Regions from separate parts of the Homo sapiens genome. Here region 1 is linked to region 2. Evidence: promoter capture Hi-C in 16 types of primary human blood cells and fetal thymus (Javierre and others, 2016). All regions are on one chromosome and are shown on one strand. Each heading gives the region's core, a stretch centred on a gene start or on the middle of the fragment in contact. The rest is flanking DNA. Distances are from core to core; before and after follow the strand shown. Region 1 overlaps STAG1 (STAG1 cohesin complex component). Region 2 holds the start of IL20RB-AS1 (IL20RB antisense RNA 1).

What was found. The method cuts DNA at HindIII sites, captures the fragments that hold promoters and counts their contacts. A CHiCAGO score of 5 or more calls a contact.
Region 1: a contact is called between a fragment that was not itself captured here and the fragment with the promoter of IL20RB-AS1 in region 2, in 5 of 17 cell types (total CD8 T cells, naive CD8 T cells, activated CD4 T cells and 2 more). The highest score is 6.8, in total CD8 T cells.

The regions. Positions count from the first base shown.
Region 1 is chr3:136,491,430-136,499,065 of GRCh38, forward strand. All of the region lies in intron 9 of STAG1 (STAG1 cohesin complex component), which reads right to left. Among named protein-coding and RNA genes, the nearest start is that of PCCB, 240 kb to the left of the region's middle. The HindIII fragment of the contact is 801 bases long and covers 2,711-3,511 here.
Region 2 is chr3:136,977,299-136,984,130 of GRCh38, forward strand. IL20RB-AS1 (IL20RB antisense RNA 1) reads right to left here and starts at 4,893. Exons shown (of 4, transcript NR_183729.1): 1 at 4,765-4,893; 2 at 2,220-2,552. IL20RB (interleukin 20 receptor subunit beta) reads left to right here. Exons shown (of 7, transcript NM_144717.4): 2 at 3,168-3,294; 3 at 4,862-5,052. The HindIII fragment of the contact is 2,087 bases long and covers 3,646-5,732 here.

The DNA.
Region 1 (7,636 bases), core at 1,861-4,360, 490 kb before region 2:
TAATTGTCTCCTCAACATTCTAAAGTATATCCTGTTCATTAAATATGAATTTGTGAGTGTTTTTCACATTCAGTATTTTGTGTTTTTACATCCCCTGGTTCTTATTATTTGCCATTTATTTGTGGAAGAAACTGATCATTTGGTCTGAAGTACAGTTTCCCAAATTCTAGACTTAAGCAATACCACAAGGATTCAGTTAGAAAACACATTCTTCTGGTCTCCATACTTACTGTAAATGATTACTTAGATCTAGCAGCATACAGATTAAAATCCAATTTGTTGGCCGGGTGCAGTGGCTCACACTTGTAATCCCAGCACGTTGGGAGCCCGAGGCAGGAAGATCACCTGAGGTCAGGAGTTCAAGACCAGCCAGGCCAACATGGTGAAACCCTGTCTCTATTAAAAATACAAAATTAGCTGAGGATGGTGGTGCACACCTGTATTCCCAGCTACTCAGGAGGCTGAGGCAGGAGAATCACCTGAACCCAGGAGGCGGGGGCTGGAATCAGCCCAAGATCACGCTGCTGCACTCCAGCCTGGGAGACAGAGCAAGATTGTCTCAAAAACAAAACAAAACAAAAAAACAAAAAAATCAAATTTGTTTGAAGTGGATGGTGGTAAGTGGGACACAAAGTGGTAACTTAAAAAGTGATATCTCTGCATAGTACCTACTACTTCCAGTACGTGCAGTAATATCTCCTATTAATCAATAATGTAGACTGAGTGATACTTATGGAAATTAATGATTAGTATCCATGGCATGCTGATCACTTTTGCCAAGTAGGTCACATTCTCAACTACACTTGTATTCTAGTTTTGAATAGTTCAGTCAGGCTATGACAGATCCAATACTAGTTTATGCAAGGTCTGATTAAATAAAATGTAAATCAACATTGTAACAGTAAGAAATTAAATAACTGTTGTTTCTACAAGGATAATAGGTTGAAAGCTTTGTCAAGACTCAAGAAAGGTGAGTCATTAAAATAAATACTGGTGTTACAGACTGACAGAAAATCATAAAAATATGGATTCTGAATTCAAGACTGCATGACGGAGCCAAGATGGACAGAATTTATGCTCTCACTTGAAAAAAGTAAATGAAAACAAAAACCAAATTGCACAAAATGATTTTTAGATGTTGGATTATCAGTCAGAGCAGAATGGTAATCTCTGAGAGGGGATAACACAAGATGAGCCCTAAGACTGCCCCCAGATATTTACATGCCATTTAACAGTTTAAGCAGGGTAAAATTTACCTTACAAGGGACACAAAATGAAGTCCTTCAAACTGCAAGGGAATAACACGATACAATAACTAAATTCCACGGGAAAAAATGAAGAATGTCAAAAATGTTAACAAGAAAGTAAATTAGAAGACAGTAAGTGTATTTGTATTTTCTCCTCTTAATTTTGTTAAGAGATGACTGAACACTCTGAAAATAATGCTGTACAGGTGGGTTAGTAACTAATGTAGACAAAATATATATGACAATAATAGCACAAAGGAAGGACAAGAAAATGAAGCTGGGCTAGAGCAGTGCTTTGTGGAAAATTTAGAGCTTATAAGGGGAGTTGAGAAAGGAGGAAGGATATAAAATGAATAATTTTAGTTTTCAACTTAAGAAACAATTAGGCCAGGCATGATAGTTCACACCTAATCACAGCACTTTGGGAGGCTGAGGGTGGTAAATGGCTTGAGCCCAGGAATTTGAGACCAGCCTGGGCAACATGGCGAAACTTCGTCTCTACTGAAAATACAAAAAATTAACCAGGTATGGTAGTGTGTGCCTGTAGTCCCAGCTACTCAGGAGGCTGAGGTGGGAAGATCACCTGAGCCCAGGATGTTGAGGCTGAAGTGAGCTGTGATTGTGCAACTGCACTCCCACCTGGGTGACAGAGTAAAACCCTGTCTCAAAAAAACCAAACCAAACCAAAACAAAAAGATCAGCAAAGGATGGCTCACACCTGTAATCCCATCACTTTGGGAGGCTAAGGCAGGTGGATCACTTGAGTCCAGGAGTTCAACACGAGCCTGGACAACATGGCCAAACCCTGACTCTACAAAAATAACAAAAATTAGCCAGGCATAGTGATGTGTGCTTGTAGTCCCAACTACTCAGGGGGCTGAGGCGGGAGTACTGCTTGAGCCCGTGAAGTCAAGGCTGCAGTGAGCAATGATCATGACACTGCACTCCAGCTTGGACAACAGAGCGAGATCCTGTCTCCGAAAAAAAAAAAAAAAAAACAACACAAATAATAAATATGGAAACATAAATCAAGGAAATAAAAAACAGAGAAAGCCAACAAAATTACAAGTCCATTATTATTTGAAAAGATCAACAAAACAAACTTACAGTGAAACTGAGAAAGACAAAAGAGAAGACACAAATCACACAAGAATAAATAAGGGGGCTGACAACCCCCCAAAAATTAAAACAACTACAAAATATTATGAATAACATTATGCCATTAAATTTACAATTTGCATGAAATAGACATATTGCCTGAGAAATACAAATTACCAAATCTGACTCAAAAACAACAAAAAATCTGGCGGTGTGCAGGGCGCAGTGGCTCACACCTATAATCCTAGTACTTTGGGAGGCCGAAGCAGAAGGACTGCTTGAGGTCAAGAGTTCTAACCATTCTGGGCAAAACAGGGAGAAGCCCTAGTTTCTAGAAAAAATAAAAAATTGGCCAGGTGTCGTGAAGCTTGCCTGCAGTCCTAGCTACTTGGGAGCTGAGGCAGGAGGACTGCTTGAGCCCAGGACATTGAGGTTCTACGGAGTTGTGATTGTGCCACTGCACTCCAGGCAGGGTGACAGACAGAGACCCTGTCTCAAGAAAATAAATTAATAAAAAACAAAACAAAACTTAAAAAAATTCAGGATATATAAATTGAATCAGTAATTAAAAACCTTTACACAAAGAAAAGCCTGGTATTAAAGGGCTTCTCTGCTGAAATCTACCAAACATAGAAATATTACCAATCCTTCATAAATTCTTTCAGAAAACAGAGCAGGAAGAATAGTTCCCAGTGTATTCTATAAGGCTAGTATTGACACTGTTATTCCTTATGAAAGTAAATGCACAAATCCTTAACAAAATACTAGCAAACTGAATCCAGTAGCATATAAAAAGGATTGTATACCATAACCATGTGGAATTTCTCCCAGAATGCAAGGTTGGTATAATATCTGAAAATCAATGAACACAATACACTATATTAATATAATAAAAGAAAAAACCTGCATGACCACCTCATTCAAAACAGAAAAAATAAAGAAATACATCAATCCATCATGATAAAAACACCCAACAAATCAGGCTAGAAGTAAATTCCTCATCCTACTAAAGGGTATCTACACAAAACTTAGTTAATAACATCGTGCCTAATTTCAAAGTCTAATTGTTTCCCCATTAAGATAAGGAATAAATTCTATATTGTTAAGAGGTTAATTCTCTCCAAATTGGTTCACAAGGTAATTACAATCCCTATGATAATTTCAGAAGCTTTTGTTCAAAAATTGACAAGCTGACCCTAAGATTTATACAGAAATGCAAAGAATCTGTACCAGTCAAAAAATTTTTGAAAACGAAGAATAAAGTAAGACAACTTACACTACCTAATTTTAAAAGCTCATCTAAAGCATACTCAATGCAGGTGGTATCAGTGTAAGGATAGACAGAAAATCCAAAAATAAAACCTTGTGTTTATGGTCAATTCATCTTCAAGAGAGATGGCATGGTAATTCAATTGGGGAAAGATACTTTGTCATTAAATGGTGCTGGGAAAACTGAAAATTTGTATGCAAAAAGTAGACTTCTGCCCTTATATCACGTCATCTACAAAAATTGAATTAAAAATTCAATTTTAAAGGTTCATATGCCTTAATAGAAGAGACAAAATGATTAAACTTCGAAAATAAAACACAGAAGAAATCTTAGGGGTTAGGCAATGTTCACAGATACCAAAAGCATGACCACAGAAGAAAAACTCATAAACTGGGCCATACAAATTGAAAACATTTGCTCTGTAAAGGTCACCATCAAGAAAATGAAAAAAAGCTATACATCTGTTCACGAACTTATATCAAGAATATCAGCCAGGTGTGGTGGCATGGATGGCACGGTGGCTCATGTCTGTAATCCCAGCACTTTGGGAGGCCAAGGTGGGTGGATCACTTGAGGTCAAGAGTTCGAGACCAGCCTGACCAACATGGTGAAACTCCGCCTCTATTAAAAATACAAAATTAGGGCCGGGCACGGTGGCTCATACCTATAATTCCAGCATGTTGGGAGGCTGAGGCAGGTGGCTCGTGAGGTCAAGAGATCAAGACCATCCTGGATAACACGGTGAAACCCCATCTCTACTAAAAATACAAAAAAATTAGCCAGGCATGGTGGCAGGCGCCTGTAGTCCCAGCTACTCGGGAGGCTGAGGCAGGAGAATGGCGTGAACCTGGGAGGCGGAGCTTGCAGAGAGCAGAGACCGTGCACCACTGCACTCCAGCCTGGGTGACAGAGCAAGACTCCGTCTCAAAAAAAAAAAAAAAAAAAAAAAATTAGCTGGGCGTGGTGGTGCATGCCTGTAATCCCAGCTACTTGGGAGGCTGAGGCAGGAGAACCACTTGGATCTGGGAGGCAGAGGTTGCAGTGAGCTGAGATTGTACCACTGCACTCCAGCCTGGGCAACAAGAGGGAGACTCCGTCTCAAAAAACAAACAAACAAACAAAAAAACCCCCAAAAAACACAGAAAGTACTCCTATAAACCCTTCTTAATAATTGTTAGAATAAACAGACCGAAAATCAGTAAAGAGAGAGAAGACTTGAACAACACTATTAACCAATTTGACCTAACTGGTATAAGACGCTAGCCAACAAAAGCAGAATATACCTTATTTTCTTGAGGTATAGAGATCTATAGGTATCTATAGGTATCTATTCACCAAGATAGAGTTTACTGTGGGTCTCATACAAATCTCAATAAATTTAGAAGCATTCAAATCATACAAACTATGTTCTTTGACTACATTGAAATTAAATTAGAAATCAATAACAGAAAGGTATCTAGAAAATCCTCAAATATCTGCACACTAAATGCCATGCTTCAAAATAATCCATGGGTGAAACAAAAAAATCAAAAAGGAAACTAGACAGTATTTTGAACTAAATAAAAAATGCAATATATCCAAATTTAGGACACATAGCTAAAGCAGTGCTTTAAAAAATTTATAGGAGTAAATTCCCTTATTAGAAAAAAAGTGTCAAATCAATGACCTCAAATTCTACCTTGAGAAACTAAGAAGAGCTGAAGAAGTGAAACCCAAAGTGAGCAGATGAAAGGAAATAAAGGACAGAAATCAATGAAATAGAAAACAAAAATAATAGAAAAATTCAATATAAAATAAGATAAAATAGCTCCACATACACTGAACAATGAAAAGAGAAAAGCGGGAAGGAAGCAGGGGGAAAAGGAGTGGGAGAGAGAGAGGGAGAGAGAGAGAGATGTTAAATTACCAATATTATGACCAACTTTATGCTGATAGTTTTTTAATACAACTCAACCACCAAGATGAATGTACCAATTTCTTATAAGACATAAACTACCAAAGTTTACTCAGGAACAACAGATAACCTCAACAGCCCTATATCTACTGGAGAAAATTCATACTTAAAAACCTTCCTGCAAAGAAAATTCTAGGCTCCAATGGTAGAACTCTTATCTGAAGAAGAAATAATACCAGTTCTATCAAACTCACCGAGAAAATTAAAGAAGAGAGAATACACTGTAACTCAATCTACAAGGCCAGCATTACCTTGCTAACAAAGGTAGACAGTGATATTCATTAAAATAAAGTTAGAGCTATTTATCCCTCTTGAACATAGATGCAGAAATTCTTGGAAAAACTCAGCAAATCACATACAACCATATATAGATAAAAACATATCATGATAATGTGGGCTTTATGCGTTCATGTTAACATCTGAACATAAATTCACCACATTAAGTCTTTAAAAAATAAAACAACACACTGATCTCAATAGATGCAGAAAAAGATTTGACAAAATCCAAGATATATTCCTAATAAAAACTCTCAGAAAACTAGGAATAAAAAGAAACTTCCGGCTGGGCGCGATGGCTCATGCCTGTAACCCCAGCACTTTGGGAGGCCGAGGCGGGCGGATCACCAGGTCAGGAGATCGAGACCACCCTGGCTAACACGGTGAAACCCTGTCTCTAGTTAAAAAAAAAATAAAATAAATACAAAAAATTAGCTGGGCGTGGTGGCAGGCGCCTGTACTCCCAGCTACTTGGGAGGCTGAGGCAGGAGAATGGCGTGAACCCGGGAGGTGGAGCTTGCAGTGAGCCGAGATCGCGCCACTGCACTCTAGCCTGGGCAACAGAGCGAGACTCATCTCAAAAAAAAAAAAAATTCCTCAATCTGATAAGGGGCATCTATGAAAATATTACAGCTAGGCCGGGCCTGGTGGCTCACGACTATAATCCCAGCACTTTGGGAGGCCAAGGCAGGCAGATCACCTGAGGTCAGGAGTTCGAGACCAGCCTGACCAACAGGGAGAAACTCCGTCTCTACTAAAAATACAAAATTAGCTGGGCGTGGCAGAGCATGCCTGTAATCCCAGCTACTTGGAAGGCTGAGGCAGGACAATCACTTGAACCCGGGAGGCGGAGGTTGCAGTGAGCCGACATTGTGCCAGTGCACTCCAGCCTGGGCAACAAGAGCAAAACTCCATCTTAAAAAAAAAAAAAAAAATTATATATATATATATATATATATACACATACATATACATACACACACACACACACACACACACCACACACACATACACACACACACACACACACACATATATATACACATTACGGCTAGCAACGCATTCAATGATAAAAAAAACTCTGACTTTGTTCAGAGAAAGAAGCCAGATCCGCCCACAAAAAAAAAACCCAGATATGTTGCATAATTCCATTTCTATAAAATTCTAGAAAATGTAAATAATCAGCACATCAATGCTTGCTTGAGGATGATGGAAAGGTAGAACAACAGGAAGGGAGGTAGAAAGGAGTTACAAAGTGCCATGAGAAAACTTGGCACTTGAATTTCTTAAGGATGATGGAGAGATTCATTATCTCGCTTGTGGTGGTGGTTTTATAGGTGTATATATGTCAAAACTCATCAAATTATGCACTTAAATGTGCAGTTTATTTATGTGAATTAGACCTCCATAAAGTTGCAGTAAAAAAAAAAAAACAAAGACTGCATGGCAGGTATATGCAAATCCTTGTTCTTTTTAAAACAAATATATCAATAACATGTTATACATGCAGTATATGCAAGAAAGCAGACATAAAACTCCAATCAGACAATCCACACTGAACATAAAAGCCCTGGACCTATTTCAAAAGAACATTTTATTCTTTTGGTTAAAATGTTTAAGTTCCATTAAAATAAATTATCAAACAGATACACATACACACACAACTTGCCACTTGGTATACACAGGGGATTGCTTCTCGGACTGCTCACATATAGCAAAATCCATGCATACTCAAGTACTACAGCTGTCTCTGAGTAATCTGCATATTCAACAAGTTAGACCTCCATGTAA
Region 2 (6,832 bases), core at 3,643-6,142:
ATTGATAGGAATTGCATTAAACCTATATACAATTTGGGGGAGAATTGGCATCTTAACTGTTGAATCTTCTAATGCATGAACACAGTATGTCTCTCCATTTATTTAAATCTTCTTTGATTTCATTTAGCATTGTGGAGTTTTCCCTGAGTATATTTTGTCAGATTTACACCTATTTTTTTAGTGATTATAATTTTAATTTCTGTGTATGTGTTTGTTGCTGGTATATAGAAATATAATTTTTTTTTGAGATGGAGTCTTGCTCTGTTGCCCAGGCTGGAGTGCGGTGGTGCAATCTCAACTCACTGCAACCTCCACCTCCTGGGTTCAAGCGATTCTCCTGCCTCAGCCTCCTGAATAGCCAAGATTACAGGCACGCACTACCACGCCCAGCTAATTTTTCTATTTTTAGTAGAGATGGGGTTTTGCCATGTTGGCCAGGCTGGCCTCGAACTCCTGAGCTCAGGCGATCTGCCTGCCTTGGTCTCCCAGAGTGCTGGGTTTACAGGCGTGAGCCACCAGGCCTGGCCTGGTTTTAGATTTTTTTTTAAGATTCTGTGGGACTTTTCTACATGTGGGAGAGCATATCATGTCATTTGCATATAGGGCAAGTTTTACTACTTCTTTTATAATCTATATTTCTTTTACTTATTTTGCTTGCCTTATTACAGTGGCTAGAACTTTCAGTAGTATGTTGAATAAGAGTGGTAAGAGTGGACATTCTTGCCTATTCCTGATCTTGGAGAGGAAGCATTCAGTCCTTCACCATTAAGTAAGATGTTAGCTGTAGGTTTTTTGTAGATGGTCTTTATCAAGTTGTGGTAACTCCCTGCCTGCTCTTAACTTGAAGAGAGTTTTTGGTTCTGTCTTGTTTTTTTTTTTTTTTTTGAGATGGAGTCTTGCTCTGTCACCCAGGCTAGAGTGCAATGGCTTGATCTTGGCTCACTGCAACCTCCGTCTCCCAGGTTCAAGCAAGTCTCCTGCCTCAGCCTCCCAAGTAGCTGGGATTACAGGTGAGTGCCACCACACCCAGCTAATTTTTCTATTTTTAGTAGAGACTGGGTTTCACCATGTTGGTCAGGCTGGTCTCGAACTCCTGACCTCAGCTGATCCGCCTGCCTCGGCCTCCCAAAGTGCTGGGATTATGGTGTGAGCCACCGCACCTGGCCTGTTTTGTCTTGTTTTTCATAATGAATGGATGTGGGTTTTGTAAATCCTTTTTCTGTGTCAATTGATATGATTTATGATTTTATTCTTTAGTTTATCGACATGGTAAATTACATTAACTGATTTTCAAATGTTGAACCAGCCCTGCATACCTAGAACAAATCCCACTTGGTTATGGTATATAGTTCTTTTTGTACATTACTGAATTTGGATTGCTATATTTTGTTGAAGATTTTTGTCTAAGTTCATGAGATATATTTTTATGTAGTTTATGTATATATTTTCCTCATCTGATTTTGGTATCATGGTAATACTGGCCTCATAAAGTAAGCTGGAAACTGTTCTTTCCTATTCTATGTTTTAGAGGAAATTGCATTTTGTTGATGTTGTCATCTTTAAATGTTTGGTAGAATTTTCCATTAAAACCATCTGTGCCTGGAGATTTCATTTTTGAGAGCTTTAAAGTTATATAATTAAATTACATTAATTAATAAATTGATTTGTTGACATAATTTAATTATGTAATTAAATTAGTTATATAAAATGTAGCTTTGTATTTATATAGGTTTATATTCCCCAAATAGCTGGCTAGAGAATTTTTTTAAAACTTTACCAGAGGAAGGTGTCAGAGGGGACCATTCCTTGTCCTCCTGTACCACTCTACCCCTTTTCCTTTCCATCCCTTGGGTGATTTCAAGCTTAGGGGTGGGTGGGGGTCAGGAAGACTGCCTTGTGGGTGCTCCAGGTGTTTCCCCACAGAACAGACCATGGATGCTGAGGGTGAGATGGAGGTGCATCACTAGGGCCCTACATTAGAGAAAGGGCAGGGAAACCAGGTGGGGTGTCCCCAGCAGCCTTCCATCCCTTTGTGGTCACAGGGCTTGATAACAAACAGCAGGTGCCAATCTGGAGATAGGCACAGAGATGAAAAGTCCCAAATGAGGACTCCAGCCCCACCCCCACTATGCTGTAGATGCTATCACTGCACTGTAACAGCAAAGGGAGGCAGGTGTTGGGCATTTAAACAGGAACATAGCAGAGAGTTCAGACTGTACCTTTGGGTGACATGTGAGGATGAAGTTTTTGGCTTTGTGACTGCCCAAAGTCCTTATGAGCAGGTTCAGCTTCATAGGCCTCTTTCATTCTCTACAAATCATAGTCCCACTGTGTGCATACTCTGGGCACACTGTGTCTGGGTACACTCGGGGCATACTTGTGTCCCAGACTGGCTCAGGGGCCTGCAGTCTTTCCGGGGTGGACTCACAGAGCTGGCTTGGTGTCCCACTTGAATGGACTCTCTCCACAGCAGATCTGAGCCTGTACTTCCCACCTGGCAACTGATGACCCATTTGGCCTTGTTGAGGGACATGAAACGATTGCTTTGGCATCTGAGGATGGCAGTAGCAGGAGAGGGAGGTGATGAGAATGTTGCAGTAGTCTGCATTGGTTTTCCATGAATGATTAAGAGGCTCACGTTTATGCAACTTGCTTAAAGCCACATAGTAAGTGGCAGAGTCACTGGATCCTAGCCAGTCTAACAGAAGAGTCATAAATAATGTGACTCAGTTTTCTCATTTGTACAATGGAAAAACTAATGGTCTTTACCTCCCAGTATGGTCATGAGAATTCAATAAGACAGTCATGTAACAATCCAGCACATGGTCTAGATAGAACATGGTAAGTATTAGATAAATATTAGTCATTATTATTATTAATATTGATATGTCATTTATCAACAAAGTCAGAATTATAATGGTGGTACCCAAAATTTAGTGTTAACATAAGCATGATAAAATTAGAGTTGTTTCTGGTTTATAAACATGTGAGGCTTTTTTTTTTTTGAGACAGAGTCTCATTCTGTTGTCTAGGCTGGAGTGCAGTGGTGCAATCTCAGCTTACTGCAACCTCCGCCAGTGAGGCCCTTCATTAGACACTAATTTGAAGCTATGGCATTCCCCCACTATGAGCCCACCTGTCAGCCAGGCTATCTGCCTTGATCCTAGATGAAGTGGCCATTCTGCCTGCCCCTCAGAACCTCTCTGTACTCTCAACCAACATGAAGCATCTCTTGATGTGGAGCCCAGTGATCGCGCCTGGAGAAACAGTGTACTATTCTGTCGAATACCAGGGGTGAGTTTTTTCTTTTAATAGTTCTTCTCCCTTAAGCAGAAGTTGGTTCCTGAAGGCATAGCCCTTCCTCCTGAGCCCAAGGTGGCTTTTTGAGTCCAGGGATAGATTATCCCCAAAGATCTACCCCCTCTGTCTGCATAGGCATTGAAAGAGTTGAAGAAGCAAGGGAAATTGTTCTGTGGATTTGACAGTGAACTCTCTGGGAAGATGAATGTGCATAACACATTTTGGTGGAGTTATTTTAAAAAGTGAATCAACTGTCCAATGGGTTTGACTCTGACTTGAGATGGATAAATCACTGGAGACTCAGATCCTTTAAGGGTGGAGGAGTCCTCACTTTTCCTGACTATAAGCTTATACCTAGAGCCAAAACGAACTATAATCCTAAAGGTCAGCTGGCCCTGGGGCTGAGCAGGCTCTAGTCTTCTCCAGGTGTTCAGGTGCTTGCAGCTATTGAATAGTGATAAGGACACAGAAATTGCTCCATATATTTCATTAACAATGAATACAGACTGAACACCTACATGTGTAGACATTCTTCTAGGCTCAGGGATACAGTTGACAAGGTTTCTGGATTTTGAGAGCTTACATCTAGAGGAGGATACAGATGATAAATATACTAGGCCAGCATTCTCTAGTATGGTAGCCACCAGCCACAGCTGGCTATTTAAATTTAAATTAAATTAAATTAAATTAAATTAAATTAAAATGTCTGTTTCCTGCCACACTAGTCACATTTTAGGTGTTCAATAGCCACATGTGGCCAGTGGTTACCATATTGAACAACATCGATTTAGAATATTTGCATCATCACAGAAAGTTTATTTTTGGAAAGCACTGCTCTAGGGAATTTTGGATAGTAATCAGTGCTAGGAGGAAGCTAAAAGGCTGATGCCATAGAGAGTTGACACTGAGGCTCCTTTATATTAGATGGCCTGGGATGGCCTCTCTGAGGAGGTGATATTTATGCCATATCTGAAGGACAAGAGGAGCCAGCCATGCGAACAGCAGGGGCAGAGCGTTTGAGATGGAGTGAACAGTTAGTCAAAGGTCCTAAGGCAAAAAGTGCTCAGCATTTTGGAGAAATGACCAATGTGGCAAGAATATCACGCTTCGGAGCAGAGTGAGAGAGAAGGCCAAAGCATCTTGTAAGACCACTGGCAAGAGTTTGGATCCCATTCTAAGTCCTGTAGGAAGCCATTAAGGAGAGAAACGTCACAATCTGCTGAGTGGTGAATGGTTTTGAGAATGGCAGGTGTCCAAGCTGGGAGATCACAGCAAGGCAAGGAATGACAGTGGCTGAGATTAGGGTGATGACCCTGGAGATGAAGAGATAAAAGAGATCCAGACACATTGATGTTTATGCCTAGCTTTCCCTATCTGGCAATAAAAGGAGTAAGGGACGATGGATGGTTGGTAGGGAGGAGAGTGGAGGAGCTAGGATAATGAGAAAGTACTTATTTTACTTACCTGTACAAAGTAGGTGAACGAAGTCAGTTACTTGCAACCATAACTGAGCCTGTGTCAGAGGGGCTGGTGTAACTCTGTGCCCTCCTCTCTTTGACAGGGAGTACGAGAGCCTGTACACGAGCCACATCTGGATCCCCAGCAGCTGGTGCTCACTCACTGAAGGTCCTGAGTGTGATGTCACTGATGACATCACGGCCACTGTGCCATACAACCTTCGTGTCAGGGCCACATTGGGCTCACAGACCTCAGCCTGGAGCATCCTGAAGCATCCCTTTAATAGAAACTCAAGTAAGGCACTTCTCTCCTTACACTCCCACCCCAACCAGCCCCTCCTTTAGGAACCATGTTCACCTAAACTTTCTAGACTCTTTTTAGCATCAGAATAGTCCTGCAAAGCCAGAGTATTGTGAACACAAACAACCCTTACTGGTATATTTGAAAAATTGCCAACTGCTTTCTACATGCTGCTCTCTGTCATGCCCTTTGACTACTCAAGTCATTCCTGACTGTCTGTGTCAGGGTGTGCAGGTGTTGGGGATGCTGACATTGGGAACCTGGAAGGAAAGCTGCTCTGGAAGTGAAGAGGTGGCACCAGGACTGCTGCTCCCTACTCTGATTGTGCCTCCATAAATTGTGCCTCCCACTTGAGGCCTCATTAACTGCATATTTACTGCCCACGTAAGCAGCTTTGTTGTGCAAGAGGATTTATACACTTAACAGAGCCACCAGAAAATTGCCCTTCTGTAATGACTTCTGTGGGAAATAAATAACTTTTCTTTTGGAGTAGTACCTGGAAAAGGATTGAGAAAGAAGTAATAGAGGAATCCAGATAGGTGGCCAAATGTGGCTGAGTACAAGCACTGGTCATTGTATAAAAGGACATGTGTGTTTGCGGAACAGGAGAGGCAAGGGCTGATGGGCAGGGGGTAGGGAAGCAGTTGATCATGTGGTGAAGGGCTTTGACACGAAGCTTGACCAAGTCAGTAGAGGGTAGCCAATGAAAGAGGAGAGGATCTAGACCAGGTCTATCTCTTTTTTTTTTTGATACGGAGTCTCACTCTGTCACCCAGGTTGGTGTGCAGTGGCGTGATCTCAGCTCACTGCAACCTCTGTCTCCTGGGTTCAAGTGATTCTCCTGCCTCAGCCTCCTGAGTAGCTGGGACTACAGGCGTGCACCACCATGCCTGGCTAATTTTTGTATTTTTAGTAGAGACAGGGTTTCACTATGTTTTCCAGGCTGGTCTGGAACTCCTGACCTCAAGTCATCTGCCCACTTCGGCCTCCCAAAGTGCTGGGATTACAGGCATGAGCCATGGCGCCCGGCCGACCAGGTCTATCTTACAAAGCAACACTCTGGCTGCTGTGTGGAAAGTGAACCAGAGTAGGGCAAGCCTGCAGGACAGGGGAAGAGTGAGGAGGGGGTTGTAATACTCCTACTGATCCCAAGAGTTTGGAAGGGGATGGGAAGGAGATGATGAATCCAAGAAACATGGCTGATTTAGAAAGGACAGAGCTTAGGAATCAAGTTTGTGGGGACAGAAAAGGGAGAGATAATGATAGTATTCAGCTGTCAAATGGAATTGGTGAGAACACCAGCTAAGGCAAATAACCCAGGGGGAAACAACTGGTCTTGAAGAATAGGAGACACCCCCGGCTTTGAGACTGAGATTTCTACAAGATGTCATCTTGTGGATGTCTGACTGGCAGCTGGAAATCAGTCCCTGAGGCTTAGAAAGCTCAAAGGCAGATACATAACACAAAGTGGTTTTGTTTGTTTGTTTGTTTTGTTTTTGAGGTGGAGTCTTGCTCTTTTGCCCAGGCTGGAGTGCAGTGGTGCCAACACAGCTCACTGCAGCCTTGCCCTCCTGGGCTCAAGCGATCCTCCTGCCTCAGGCCCCCAAGAAGCTGGGAATACAGGCACATGCCACCATGCCTGACTAATTTTTTTGTATTTTTGGTAGAGATGGGGTTTCACCATGTTGCCCAGGCTGGTCTCGGACTCCTGAGCTTAAGTGATCCTCTTGCCTCAGCCTCACGAAGTGCTGGGATTATAGGAATGAGCCATCGC